2 separate regions of the Homo sapiens genome follow, and region 1 is linked to region 2. Evidence: promoter capture Hi-C in 16 types of primary human blood cells and fetal thymus (Javierre and others, 2016). All regions are on one chromosome and are shown on one strand. Each heading gives the region's core, a stretch centred on a gene start or on the middle of the fragment in contact. The rest is flanking DNA. Distances are from core to core; before and after follow the strand shown.

Region 1 (6,206 bases), core at 2,510-5,009, 1.4 Mb before region 2:
ATAAAAAAAATGATTACAGGGTGGGTGCAGTGGCTCACACCTGTAATCCCAGCACTTTGGGAGGCCGAGGCAGGCGGATCATGAGGTCAGGAGATCAAGACCATCCTGGCTAACACAGTGAAATCCCATCTCTACTAAAAATACAAAAAATTAGCCGGGCGTGGTGGCACGCGCCCGTAGTCCCAGCTACTTGGGAGGCTGAGGCAAGAGAATCGCTTGAACCCGAGAGGCGGAGGTTGCAATGAGCTGAGATCGTGCCACTGCACTCCAGCCTGGGCAACACAGCGAGACTCCGTCTCAAAAAAAAAAAAAAAAAAAGACTATAAAAAATTTTTTTAATTAAAAAGGATCAGGTGCAGTGGCTCAAGCCTGAAATCCCAGCACTTTGAGAGGCCAAAGAGAGAGGATTGCTCAAGCCCAGGAGTTCAAGACTACCCTGGGTAATATGGTGAAACCCCATCTCTATAAAAAAGAAAATAGATTAGCCGGACGCGGTGGCTCACCCCTGTAATCCCAGCACTTTGGGAGGCCAAGGCGGGCGGATCACGAGGTCAGGAGATCGAGACCATCCTGGCTAACACGGTGAAACCCCATCTCTACTAAAAATACAAAAAAAAAAAAAAAATTAGCCAGGTGTTGTGGCATGCGCCTGTGGCAGGAGAATCGCTTGAACCGGGTGGCAGAGGTTGCAGTGAGCCAGATCACACCACTGCACTCCAGCCTAGGCGACAGAGCGAGACTCCATCTTAAAAAAAAAAAAAAAAGAAAGAAAGAAAATAGATTTTAAAAAAAAAAGAAATGAAGTACTGACACATATTACAACATGGATATACTTTGAAAGCATTATGCTAAACGAAAGAAGCCAGTCACAAAAGACCGCATTTATGGTTTCATTTACATAAAATGTCCACAACAGTCTAATCTATAATGATAGAAAGTCGATCAGTGGTTGCATAGGACTGGGAGTGCTGAGGGAAAATGAAAAGCGACTGTTAATGGATATGGGGCTCTTTTGGGGGATGATTAAAATGCTGTAAAATTGAGTATAGTGATGGCTGCACAACTCTGAATATACAGTCGGCCCTCCATATCCATGAGTTCTGAATACATGGATTCAATCAATGAGGTACAGAAACTACTCAAAAAAAAATTATGTCTGTAAATGAACATGTACAGACTTTTTTCTGGTCATTATTCCCTAAACAATACACAGTATAACAACTATTTACATAGCATCCACATTGTATTAGGTAGTATGAGTGATGTGGAGATGATTTAAAGCATACAAGAGAATATGCAGAGTTTATATGCAAATACTATGTCAGTTTTATTCATTTTTCCTAGGAGACAGGATTTTGCTCTGTCACCCAGGTTGGTGTCCAAACTCTGGCCTCAAGAGATCCTCCCACCTCAGCCTCCTGAATAACTGGGATTACAGGCACAAGCCACTGCACCCAGCAACTATGCCATTTTATTTTAGGGACCTGAGCATCCATAGATTCTGGTGTCTGAGGAAGGCCCTAGAACAAATCCCCAACAGATACCGATGGACAATTGTAGTAAAAACCACTGAATTGTTCACCTGCAAAATGGAGTAATTTTTTAAAAAATTAATAAACCCACCAAACTGTACACTTTAAACTGAACTGACTAGTATGTGAATTATATCATCGTGAAGCTGTTACTCCTCCAAAAATGGTATACAACATGAGCAGGTAAAGCCACTAACATTAGCAGACCCTACAGGCCACAGGTACCAATCTGTTTACTTAGGACAGAAAAATCCCAAAGTTACAAATTCTTTCCAACCATACTCAAGCTGACTATTTTGTAAATGAGTATTTATGTCTGAAATGAAAGGCAATGATAAATCCAATGAGTTAAATCACTAAACTTAAAAATAGGTTGACATAAATATTCAAACTTCAAATGCCCAGGATATTCCAATTTTCTATTTCATGTGTTTAACTACTAGATATCGTCTCAATAATATTTACATGAATGTACTCTGTAAACTGTAATGCTCTATAAAAAGTTTTATTATTCCTAAATTCCCTTAAATGTAATTTAATGGTTTCCAGTCCTATATAAGTCATTCTACCTTTTGAAGAAACTCTGAAACACAAATATCCAATCCTTTCTTAGTAAAGCATACATCCTTCCGTGATTCTGGCACCAAAGAAAGTGCATAATTTACTTCAGGATAGAGAATCACAGATAAAAAGGAAAACAAATCTGATTATCAAACACACGATTACTATTCTCTCATCACCGGATTACAATTTAAACCATTAAGCTGAAGTAAATGTTCATGAACACAAGAAAGGGGGGAATTTTTAACAGTTTTACAATGACGTGTCCCCCTCTTCCTCATTTAATGAAGTACTAAACTTAAAGGCTATTCTGCAGCGAATCTGCCTCCTAGAAAGAGTCCATCCAGGATGCTGGCAGAGGGAAAAAGATTAGAAACTGTGCGATCTGGATTATTCTTGGTGTCACGGAATATTTTTTGAGTCCTTTATGGACATGGAATAAAAATGCCCAAATGGAGCAGAAGAGAGGGCTCGGCTACCCTGATCACAAAGCTCCTGGGGTAGAGTCAGCATCCAGCCCTGGCAGAGCCCTCCCTGTCCTCCTTCCGCGCCCCTAGACCATCCCGTCGCGCGGTCCCTGAGGACCAGCTTCGCGAGGATCCAGAAGGCGGTCACTGGACGTGCCTGTTACGAGCCCGTTTTTGTTTTGCTTAAGAAACAGATTCCGATCCGAGCAAAGCCTCCCTACCTCCCGGGGAATAGGGGGAGATGGCAGCACGGTGCCGGCGTGGAGAGCGAGAATAAAAGAACTGCCGAGTACAACCTGTCGTGCAAGCTAGCAGCGCCGGGAAGGAAAGGTAAGCGGCGGCGATAAGGCACGACAGGGAAGGAAACTGGTGTCCAGCGCCCCCCCCCGCCTGCCCGCCACCCAGAGCGGCCGGAGCCTCCCAGGTCCCGCCCCGAGCTCGCCGCCCAGCCCCGGCGCCGGCCGCAGACTCCCGCCCTACACAAACCCTCCCAGGACGCGCTTCCTCCGGAGCCGGACCCCCGCCCTGGCCTCCCCGCGGGATGAGGCGGGTCAGTTCAGTCCGCTTCTCGGCAGAGGTGACTCGCGCAGAGATGTAAACACGGAGAGACCAGCTGCGCTCGGCCCATCCCCCCCGCCGGGGTCTGTAACCTCTTCCCTCAGCCCTGCCCCGCGCCCCGCGCTCCCCGCGGGCAGGCGCGCAGCGCGCCTTCCCCTTTCTCCAAGTCCCGCTCCGCGACCGTTGCCTGGGGACACTCAGCCCCCTTCCCCCAGCCCCCGGCCGGTGTCACCGCCGCAGCCGCCGGAAAACCCCTCCGCAAACCCCGAAGCAAACAACACAAGCGCGGGGCGGGGGCGCGGAGGGAGGCGGCGGCAGTCGGGACAGCCAGGCTTTATCGCCGCGCCCTTCGCGCTCCCTCTCACCAGCCTCGGCTGCCCGCGCTCTTACCTGCTCTCCGCGACGCCTGGGAAGACCGCGGCGTCCTTTTCCCTCTCAGCAGGGCCGCGGACTAGCCGCCGCCGTTGGCCGAGCGTCCGGAGGGAGCCGGGGCCTCCCCAGCAGCCCGAGCCGCTCCACAGGGAGAGAAGGAGACAAAACAGAGGCTCGCCGCCCCGCGCAGCGACCCCCGCCCGCGCCGCCCCACCGACCCCCAACCGCCTAGGCGACGGCGGCGACACAGAGCTTGGCGCTGGGAGCAATGGTTGCCCCCGCCCCGCTCCGCTCCCGGCCCCCTCCCTCCACCCCCCGCCTCGGCTCCTCCCCCTCGGCCTCCTGCCGCCTCCACCAGGACACTGGAGTCCGCCTCCCCCTCCCCGCCAGCTCAGAGTGCTCCTCCCCTCCCCACGCGGCGGGGGGGCGGGGGCGGCACCGCCAGTCACCGCAGCGCCTGTCAAACGCGGGCCGGCTATTTATACCCCGCGGGGCCCCGCCGCCCTCGGGCCCCCACCAGCCCGCCGAACCTGCTTCTTTTGCTGTCTTGAATCCCGCCCTCTTCTCCTCGCCCAACTTCTCCCAAACCCGCCTTCCCAGGTAAAGACGCTCGTCACTTGTCCGGCTCCTTGCCCAGGGCTCCCCGATCTCGCTCTCCACTCCAGCCCCGGATTGGTGCAGGGGGCTCTGCCGCACGGGGCAGGCGTGTGAGGCCGATGGGGCCGCGCGTGCACCTGCAGCGCCCGCCGGCTTTCCCCCGCCGGCCGGGACCGCACGCACACACCCTCGCCACTCAGGGCCCCCGCAGGCCCCGCCGTCACCGCATCCCCAACTCAGGACTCTCGCCCTTCTCCGGAGACGGCCCCACAGTCGGGCAGTCTGACAGTTACAGGGGGGCGAGGTTTTGCAAAAACTCCTAGCCCGGTCTTTCCAGTTCCCACTCCTCAGCCTTGGCTTAGTGAAAGGTGGGGGTTCGGGCAGGAGCGCGACGCCGGCCCCGCCCCGGCCGGTGACGCACGTGGCGCACCGCCCCGCCAGCCTCGCGCCCCTCGGCGCCGCCAGCTCCTCCTCCCCGCTAGCAAAAGCCGGGCGTAGTACACCCGCGACCCCGCCCCATTCCCAGAAATTACCACCCGCCCAACAGCCCGGCCGCGCGGCGGTTGGTGCCGGCGTTTGCTGGCTGTCGGGTGGCTGGGCCCAGCGCGCAGCTGCGGAGCGCGGCGGGCGGCCCCTTGGAGCTGCCCGGGGAGCTGCGGGCACTCGCACCTAGCCATTGTCGCTCCTTGCGCGGTCCGCAACGGAGAAGTAACTCAAGTCTGAGTGTTGTTGGTGCGAGAATGAGAGAGTGTTCTGGTGTGGGAGTATTTTGGCCCAAGTGCCTGCGAATTCGAAAACGAAAACCCAGCAGTGGCTGCACGCTTCTGGTTTCCACACTTTCACACAAAGGGGAGCCTTCGAGCGGGGCACTCTCACGCGCCTTCAAGTGCACAAAAGCCAATGACACGGTGCCGTGGGTTGCCCTGTGTAGGAGCGTCTCTTTAATGGGCTTTGTAGGCACAGTTAATGCATACAAACGCCTCAGTCTATTTCTTCACCACCACCATTCCCCGCCGCGGCGTTTTCTGTATTTGTTTCTTTAACAAAGAGCACAGCCTGTCCGGTGCGCGCGGGGCTCCTTTTGCTCCCCTCCAGGGCTCCTGCAGCCTCGCCGCGATGGACCTGGCACCTGGCGCGGTATTCACCAGCTGATTTCTGGGCTCCAGCGTTACCCTTTTTACGGCTTCACAACCAGTCTGGAGCAAAGAAGAAACACTGAGGAATATAAGTGATAGCTGTTCTCTTGAAAGGGACGTGGGAACCGTGGAAATCACCCTAGAGTAAGGCTCAAATGTCAGAAAGCTGCAGGAGGCTCCAGATTTAAATCCCTGAAGAGCCTAAGAATGTAATGATCTCTTTCTTTTGTTAATACTGCTGTTGCCTCTATTTTCTTGGGGGTGAGTCTTCTCTTCCTTTCTTAAAAAGCAACTCTGGGCCGGGCGCAGTGGCTCACGCCTGTAATCCCAGCACTTTGGGAGGCCCTGGAGGGTGGATTGCCTGAGGTCAGGAGTTCGAGACCAGCCTGCCTAACATGGTGAAACCCCGTCTCCACTAAAAATACAAAAATTAGCTGGGCGTGGTGGCACACGCCTGTAGTCCCAGCTCCTCGGGAGGCAGGAGAATCGCTTGAACCCCGGAGGTAGAGGTTGCAGTGAGCCGAGATCGCAACACTACACTCCAGCCTGGGCGACAGAGCAAGACTCCTTCTCAAAAAAAAAAAAAAAAAAAAAAAAAGGCCGGGCGCGGTGGCTCACTCCTGTAATCCCAGCACTCTAGAAGGCCGAGGCGGGCGGATCACCTGAGGTCAGAAGTTCAAGACCATCCTGGCTAACACGGTGAAACCCCGTCTCTACTAAAAATACAAAAAATTAGCCGGGTGTGGTGGTGTGTGCCTGTAATTCCAGCTACTCGGGAGGCTGAGGCAGGAGAATCGCTTGAACCCGAGAGGCGGAGGTTGCAGTGAGCCCAGATCGCACCATTGCACTCTAGCCTGGGCAACGAGAGCGAAACTCCGTCTCAAAAAAAAGCAAGTCCGAGGGCTCTTATTCTTATTTAAGAAATTTTTACTCTTGAACACAGAGGAAACCTGGAGACCGTGACTGTTAATCAAAGATCCTCT
Region 2 (6,195 bases), core at 1,154-3,653:
TGTTACTCTTTCAAGCCATTGAATAGTTTGAGTACATTGTTTGAATTTTAGTTTTGAAAAAGTGATTAATTGGCCATTTGATCATCAATTAATAGCGGTATATATTACACCTGCCATTGTTTTTAAATGCCTAATTAAACTGTCAAAACAGACACAATGAAATGATAGATACATAATTTGAGATTTGATCAGTTGTATAAACTTTTTAAATTTTAAAATTCAGTTTAAGGTCATTAAGCTTGTCTTGTATGTTTCCCTCCTCCAGGAAAAAAAAATGTTTATTTCTTTGTGGGAGTTCTTCTATGGGCACTTTTTTCGATTTTGGATGAAATGGCTATTACGACAGATGACTGGGAAGTGTGAATTGCAGCGAATATTTGATACCTATGTAGGTGCACAAAGGACACACAGGATAGGTAATGTTATTCAAAAAGAAAAAGTACTAATAAAAGTTTAACGGAGTGTTTTTCTCAGGACTCACAGTGACAGATGTATTTCTTTTGTATCCTGACAAGTCACTTAAACTGAATTTCATAAGCTCTGAAGTCCCGCTTTGACTCCTTCAGCTCTAAAATTGTATGAATTTATAGAAAAAGTGGTTATTTAATTGCTTATGTGTGGAAAGAATTCTCTGGCTCCTGAAGTTTATCGGTTATTCCTTAGATTATAGTTGCAACCTATTTTCTGGTGAAAAATTTCTATACTTACATAATCCCTTTGAAATTTTCACTCACATGGTGGGAAGAATGAGTGCCTCAGTCTACATCCATTTTTATACTTAGGATCCTTCATCAGTCTTTTACTTTCTTACTGTTACTTATGAAAGGCCTGTAATTATGTATCCAGTGGTCTCTAGGAAAGATTATTAGACTCATTCTCACTGTCCAATACCATAGCCAATAGCCACATTATATTGAGCATTTGAAATGTGGCTAGTCTAAATTGAGATGTGCTGTAAGTGTAAAATATAAACTGTATTTCAAAGACTTATAAGAAAATGTAAAAAGTCCCAGTAATTGTTTATATTCTTTGTATGTTGAAATGGTAATATTTTGGATATGTTGGGTTAAAAATATATTAAAATGTTATCTGTTTCTTTTTACTTTAATGTGGCTATACAGAATTTTAAAGTACACAAATGGGTCACATTTTGGCTTGTGTTATATTTCTGTTGAACAGTGTTGCTCTGTTACCTTCTAAAATACATCAGTTTTCAGTGCTTCATTGAAAATTTTACTCTAAAATTTGAACACAGATGAGTAAGAACTGTGTTTTGAAGTCGCTTCTTTTCAGCCAGGGTAAGGAAGAGCAGAGAAGTGCTCTAGCTCATGCTCTCTGTGTTAAACGGAAAATTGTGAATTAGCCAGATTTTTTTTTTGTGTTGATCAAGTGTGCTTCGACTGAGAAATCAACCCCTGTCAGGTTAAGAGAGTGGAGTATTGGCAAATGGAACCTGTATCCAAGACAACATCGGAAGAATGACAGACAGACGCTGCCTCATAGCAGCTGGTTGATTAAGTTTAATTACTTTCCTAGTTTTCTTACAACTTCATGGTTGACTTAAATTATTGCTGCTCTTTTAATTTGCCCTTTTGACTACTCAAAAGAACAAAGTACCTCTTGATAAGAAATCTCTTCAGGCAGTATGGGTTGGTGTTTTATAGTGTGGGGGAAGAATATATATAAAGGCATTTGTTTGTGGCAAAAGCATTTTTCCTAAATTTTTCAAATTGCTGAGAAAAGATTATTCGTAAATGTGCCAGAAAATTTTTTAAATAGACCAATAAAAATGTTCCTGTGATTCTTGATATAGAAACCAGGAATGGAGAAGCTATTTGTCTGGTGACAGAAGGGTTGACCAGATAATCTGAAGTCCTTGCCTATTTGTTGTACGATTTGGTTGCTATCACCTCAAATCTAAAGGCTCAGGCTAACAAATGAAAATGCAGTAGAGAGCACTCTCATTGTAGTCTTAAGATGAGTTTCTGGGACCTGAGCTACTGTGACACAATTATGGGTGAATTTGCAGTGGTTAGTAGACACTTTGGGGTCTAAACAGAAACATATGACCCCAGGTAATGAGGTTGGTGTCACCTCTTTGAATAGGTATTTTGTGTTTGGTTGAGTTTTTTGAAATCATATGTTTATACTGTAAGATTAAATTTTAAAATGCTTCCTGTTATATAGAAATTATATCTCCTGGAACTATTAGTTTGTTACTGGTTTGATATTTTTACTAGTTGTTTATTATAGGGTAATTGACAAACAGCATTTAAGTGATAACATCTTTTTTTTTTTTTTGTCATTTCAGAAAATTCCTTGACATACTCCAAGAATAAGGTAGGATAACATAAAGGTGGTAACTCTAGAAAACTTAACGTGGACATATTTTTTCTTAAAAAAAAAAAAGTGCCCTGCTAGAAGAGTGTTTTCTATAGTGAGCATTGAGTGAAATTTTCCCCGTTTAGAGGTAATATTCTGTTTTCAAACATTTCTCTATATATGTGTTTTTCGTGTGTATTTCAAAGAAAATACTTGAATAATTTGTCCTGTCCTGAGGTTTTATTTGTTTATTTTGCTTTAAGAGTTGATAGCTTTTAGGAAAGCAGGGCCTTAGGAGGAAAGTCGTCTTTTAGACTGTGTCCTCAGGATAGATTATATGAGAGAAAAGCAACTTAGGATAGAGAAAACCCTGGGTTGTGTACCTTTTGAGCTAAAATAAGTCATAATTCATGCTATGTATTAGTCAGCTTTTGCTGTGTAACAAACTATAATAAAATCTCAGGGGCATAAAACGATACGTTGTTTCTTGCTCATATGTCTATGGGTCAGCTGGAGAAGCCTTACTTCAAGCTGGGGCCAAGTTCCTGTCTATTCCATTTGTCTCATCTGGGACTCAGGTAGGGGGTTAACAGGTATCTGGTGAATGTTTTCACCATGGATAACTAAAGGCCCAACTACACAAATATATTTTAAGTCTCTTTGTGTCATGTCTGTTAGCAACCTGTTAGTTAAAACAAGTTACATGGCCAAGCCCAAGTCAAGGGGTGGAGAAATATGATATGCCCACCGTAAGGCTATGGTAGGGAGTAGGTTGTATAATTCAATTACAAGGTAATGAAGAATTGGGACCAATAATTCAGTCTACCACATGCTGTTACTTCCCTATTGTAGTTCACAATTTTGTCTACATGTAGATTATTTGGTGTGGCAAGGATAGAATACGGGTCATCTAGACCATTGTTTGAAATCCCATAATAGAACACAACCAGTATTAAACAATAATAGGAATAGAACAGAAAATATTTAGAAACCATTGGTCATAATATGGTTAAATATATTTTAGGAATTTTTTATACTATTATAATTATTTTAAATATTTCTGTGTACATCTGTGTGTATTTTGGACATCCACATGAATGTTTGTTATTGATCATGATGTAAAATGTGGCTCAAGGTCAAAAATGTTGATTTGCTACTGTCTAGTATTATGAATCGTGCCAGAAATAAAATAGACCTTCTTGAGAGTTGCAAGCATATCTGTTATGTTCTGAAGAGTAACCTTTAAAATAGGTACTTTAATGATTTAGTTGTACTCTTTAAGAATGGTCTATTTAAGAATAACTCATATATATAAGTGAATATTTGGGGGAAGAGTCCAGAGTTACACTCCTTTGTTCAGAATTGTTAGAGAGTGATTAATATATTTTTTAAAATGAGGATGTGGAGGTCCTGAAAGCTAACAGGTTGCTGGTTCTCAAAATTTATTTATACCTTATTTATTTGTATAGTTCCTTTATTTGAAACATAGGATGCAGTTTCCCAAAGTAACAATATTACAAATTTTAGCAGATGCACTTGGGGAGGTGTTATATTTCAGGTCCATTACAAGAGTAGTCCTTAAACTTAAGGAAGAATCAAAATCTTCTGGAGGCCTATTAAAACACAGATTATTGGGCCCCATCCCCGGAATTTCTGGTCTGGTTCTGATTGCATTTCTAACATGTTCCCAGGTGATACTGCTGCAGCCGTTCCTGCTGGTGAGGGCAGTGTCTTGAGGCACTAATAGCATATTAGTATGCTGTCTGGGGACTGTTGTGGATCATAACTGCTTTAACTTTGTTTCGATAGGAAACTGTGTATGTTTTTCAAACTGACCTTAAACAAGTTGGTTTGGAACTATTTGGGTGCTGAACCCTCTAGAATGAATTGTTCTGTGAAATCTGTTTTCTTTAAGCCTCGACATTGTAAAGAGAGTAAAACCATAGCTGAGCTCTTTATGTTATACCCACAATCCCAGCTTCCAACCAATTTTTTCAGTAGTGTGTTCCTCCAAATAACCTTGACATCTCTCAGCCTGGAAGTTGTCCAACACTGCCATTGCTGTCCACTAAAACTCTTATCTGGTCCCCTTCATTACTCTCTGACTTTATCTACTACTGTTCTTGCCTTGCTCACTGGTCATCACCACTATGCTGCCTGTTATTTTCCAAACACATCAGCATGCTTCTGGTTTATGACCTTTGCACCAGGTCTTCTGTTTAAGTAGAATTATCTTCTCCCGCTTAAAAGCTTAGCTCACTTCCTCATTTTCAGGTTTTTCCTCAGTTATGACATTCTCTATGAGATTTTCCATGACCATTCTCTACCTAAGGGTATACCTTTGTCTCTCTTTATGATCCCCTTTCCTTAATTGTTTCACCATAGCACAGACCATCACTAGCGTACTAAATATTTTACTTACTTATTTTTCCATTCCTGAAAAGAAAAAGGCATTGTTTATTTTTTGTTGTTGTTTTGTTCACTGATGTTTTTCTAGTACCTGAAACAGTGCCTGGAATGTGATAAGGCTCTGAATATTTATTGAGTGAATGAATGAATAAGTGAGAAAAATAAGAGGATAAAGAATAATAAGTAAATGAAAATTAACTTTTTTCAGAATAGAGTGTAGTGTTTCTTTTATTTACTAATTTACTGTAGAGGTTCTGGAACTGGGGACTCAGTATCACATCTATCAGTGTAATTGTTATAACTGCATTTGTAACAACAGTTTTGGTCACAGAATTTATTAATGGGATTGTATGTGTGGTAAAATCATGCCAAGCTTAAGTGGAACAATACATAAGATGCTACATTTAAGAACTCCAGTGCCTTGGTCAAATCCGTCCAAGGATTTGAATGACTACCACATGTTCAGTATTCAACCAGGGTCTTTGGGATATTCAAAAGATATACAAAAGAAGACTGGAATTGAATGTAATTGTAAGTAGAAGTTTAGAGAAGGAAGAGGTAAATGTAGACTAGAGTGTTTGGGGATTTTAAAGTAGTGGTTACAAGTTAAAGAAAAATAAAATGTTCATCATTTTTTACCTCTGTTTCTTGCTATTAAAAAGTTCACTTGAAAAGTAAACATTAAAATTGTATTCTTATGAACTTCATTATTCAAAAATAGAAATTGCTATAGTACTTTGGAGGGCATCCTGCAAAGAGAGTGGTCAACAAATGGGTAAATACTGAAATTAAATCACTTAACGATTTATTCTTTTAAGGTTTTAAATCTAAGACAAACTTTCCAATAAACAGAGGTAGCCTTATCAATTTAAAAATATAATTTATGTGTGTATTGCACCTAATTTGTATATTCCATTTACTTTGTAGGGTAAATCTATTTCTCATTTTGTGATATTTTGGTTTACCTAATTACATTTTTATTCGATAAAAAAGTCTGGGTTCAAATCCTGATATTATCAATTACCAGTTGTTTGACTGTGTACAAGTTACTTATTTTCTCATTCTAAAAGCTATTCATACCCACATAGTTGTTTTGAAATTAGAGATATTACTATGAAAACAGTCTAAGAGAATGCCCAATACTTAGTAAGTATTCAACAAATAGTGGTTACTAATAATATTAATGATAATATAATTAAGCCAATATATACCATAATCATTTTAGAAATTTGATATTCATGAAAACCTCTTTGGTACTTGAGAGTACTTAGCATTACCAATGATTGCTGTGAATAAAAGTGATTTTAATCTATTCAGAGTGATTCCCTAAAGCAGTGATCTTGAAGTATGATCATGTTGGACTGTGCACTGTTCCACAGTGTGCATTCTTTCTTTGTTAAAAATTGAATCTTATTTGCTTATATTTTAGATTAAGGACTATTTATCAATTAGATATTAAGGGTT

The links. The method cuts DNA at HindIII sites, captures the fragments that hold promoters and counts their contacts. A CHiCAGO score of 5 or more calls a contact.
Region 1: a contact is called between the fragment with the promoter of ELF2 here and a fragment that was not itself captured in region 2, in 1 of 17 cell types (fetal thymus). The highest score is 7.7, in fetal thymus.

Annotation. Positions count from the first base shown.
Region 1 is chr4:139,173,459-139,179,664 of GRCh38, forward strand. ELF2 (E74 like ETS transcription factor 2) reads right to left here and starts at 3,760. Exons shown (of 10, transcript NM_001331036.3): 1 at 3,509-3,760. LOC105379412 (a long non-coding RNA gene) reads left to right here and starts at 2,697. Exons shown (of 4, transcript XR_007058273.1): 1 at 2,697-2,890. RefSeq lists an enhancer at 2,731-2,780, silencers at 3,381-4,340, 4,351-4,730 and a cis regulatory region at 5,097-5,221. The HindIII fragment of the contact is 9,266 bases long and covers 1-6,206 here.
Region 2 is chr4:140,525,155-140,531,349 of GRCh38, forward strand. ELMOD2 (ELMO domain containing 2) reads left to right here. Exons shown (of 9, transcript NM_153702.4): 2 at 266-416; 3 at 2,312-2,340. The coding sequence starts at 275. Among named protein-coding and RNA genes, the nearest start is that of ELMOD2, 4.1 kb to the left of the region's middle. The HindIII fragment of the contact is 4,334 bases long and covers 237-4,570 here.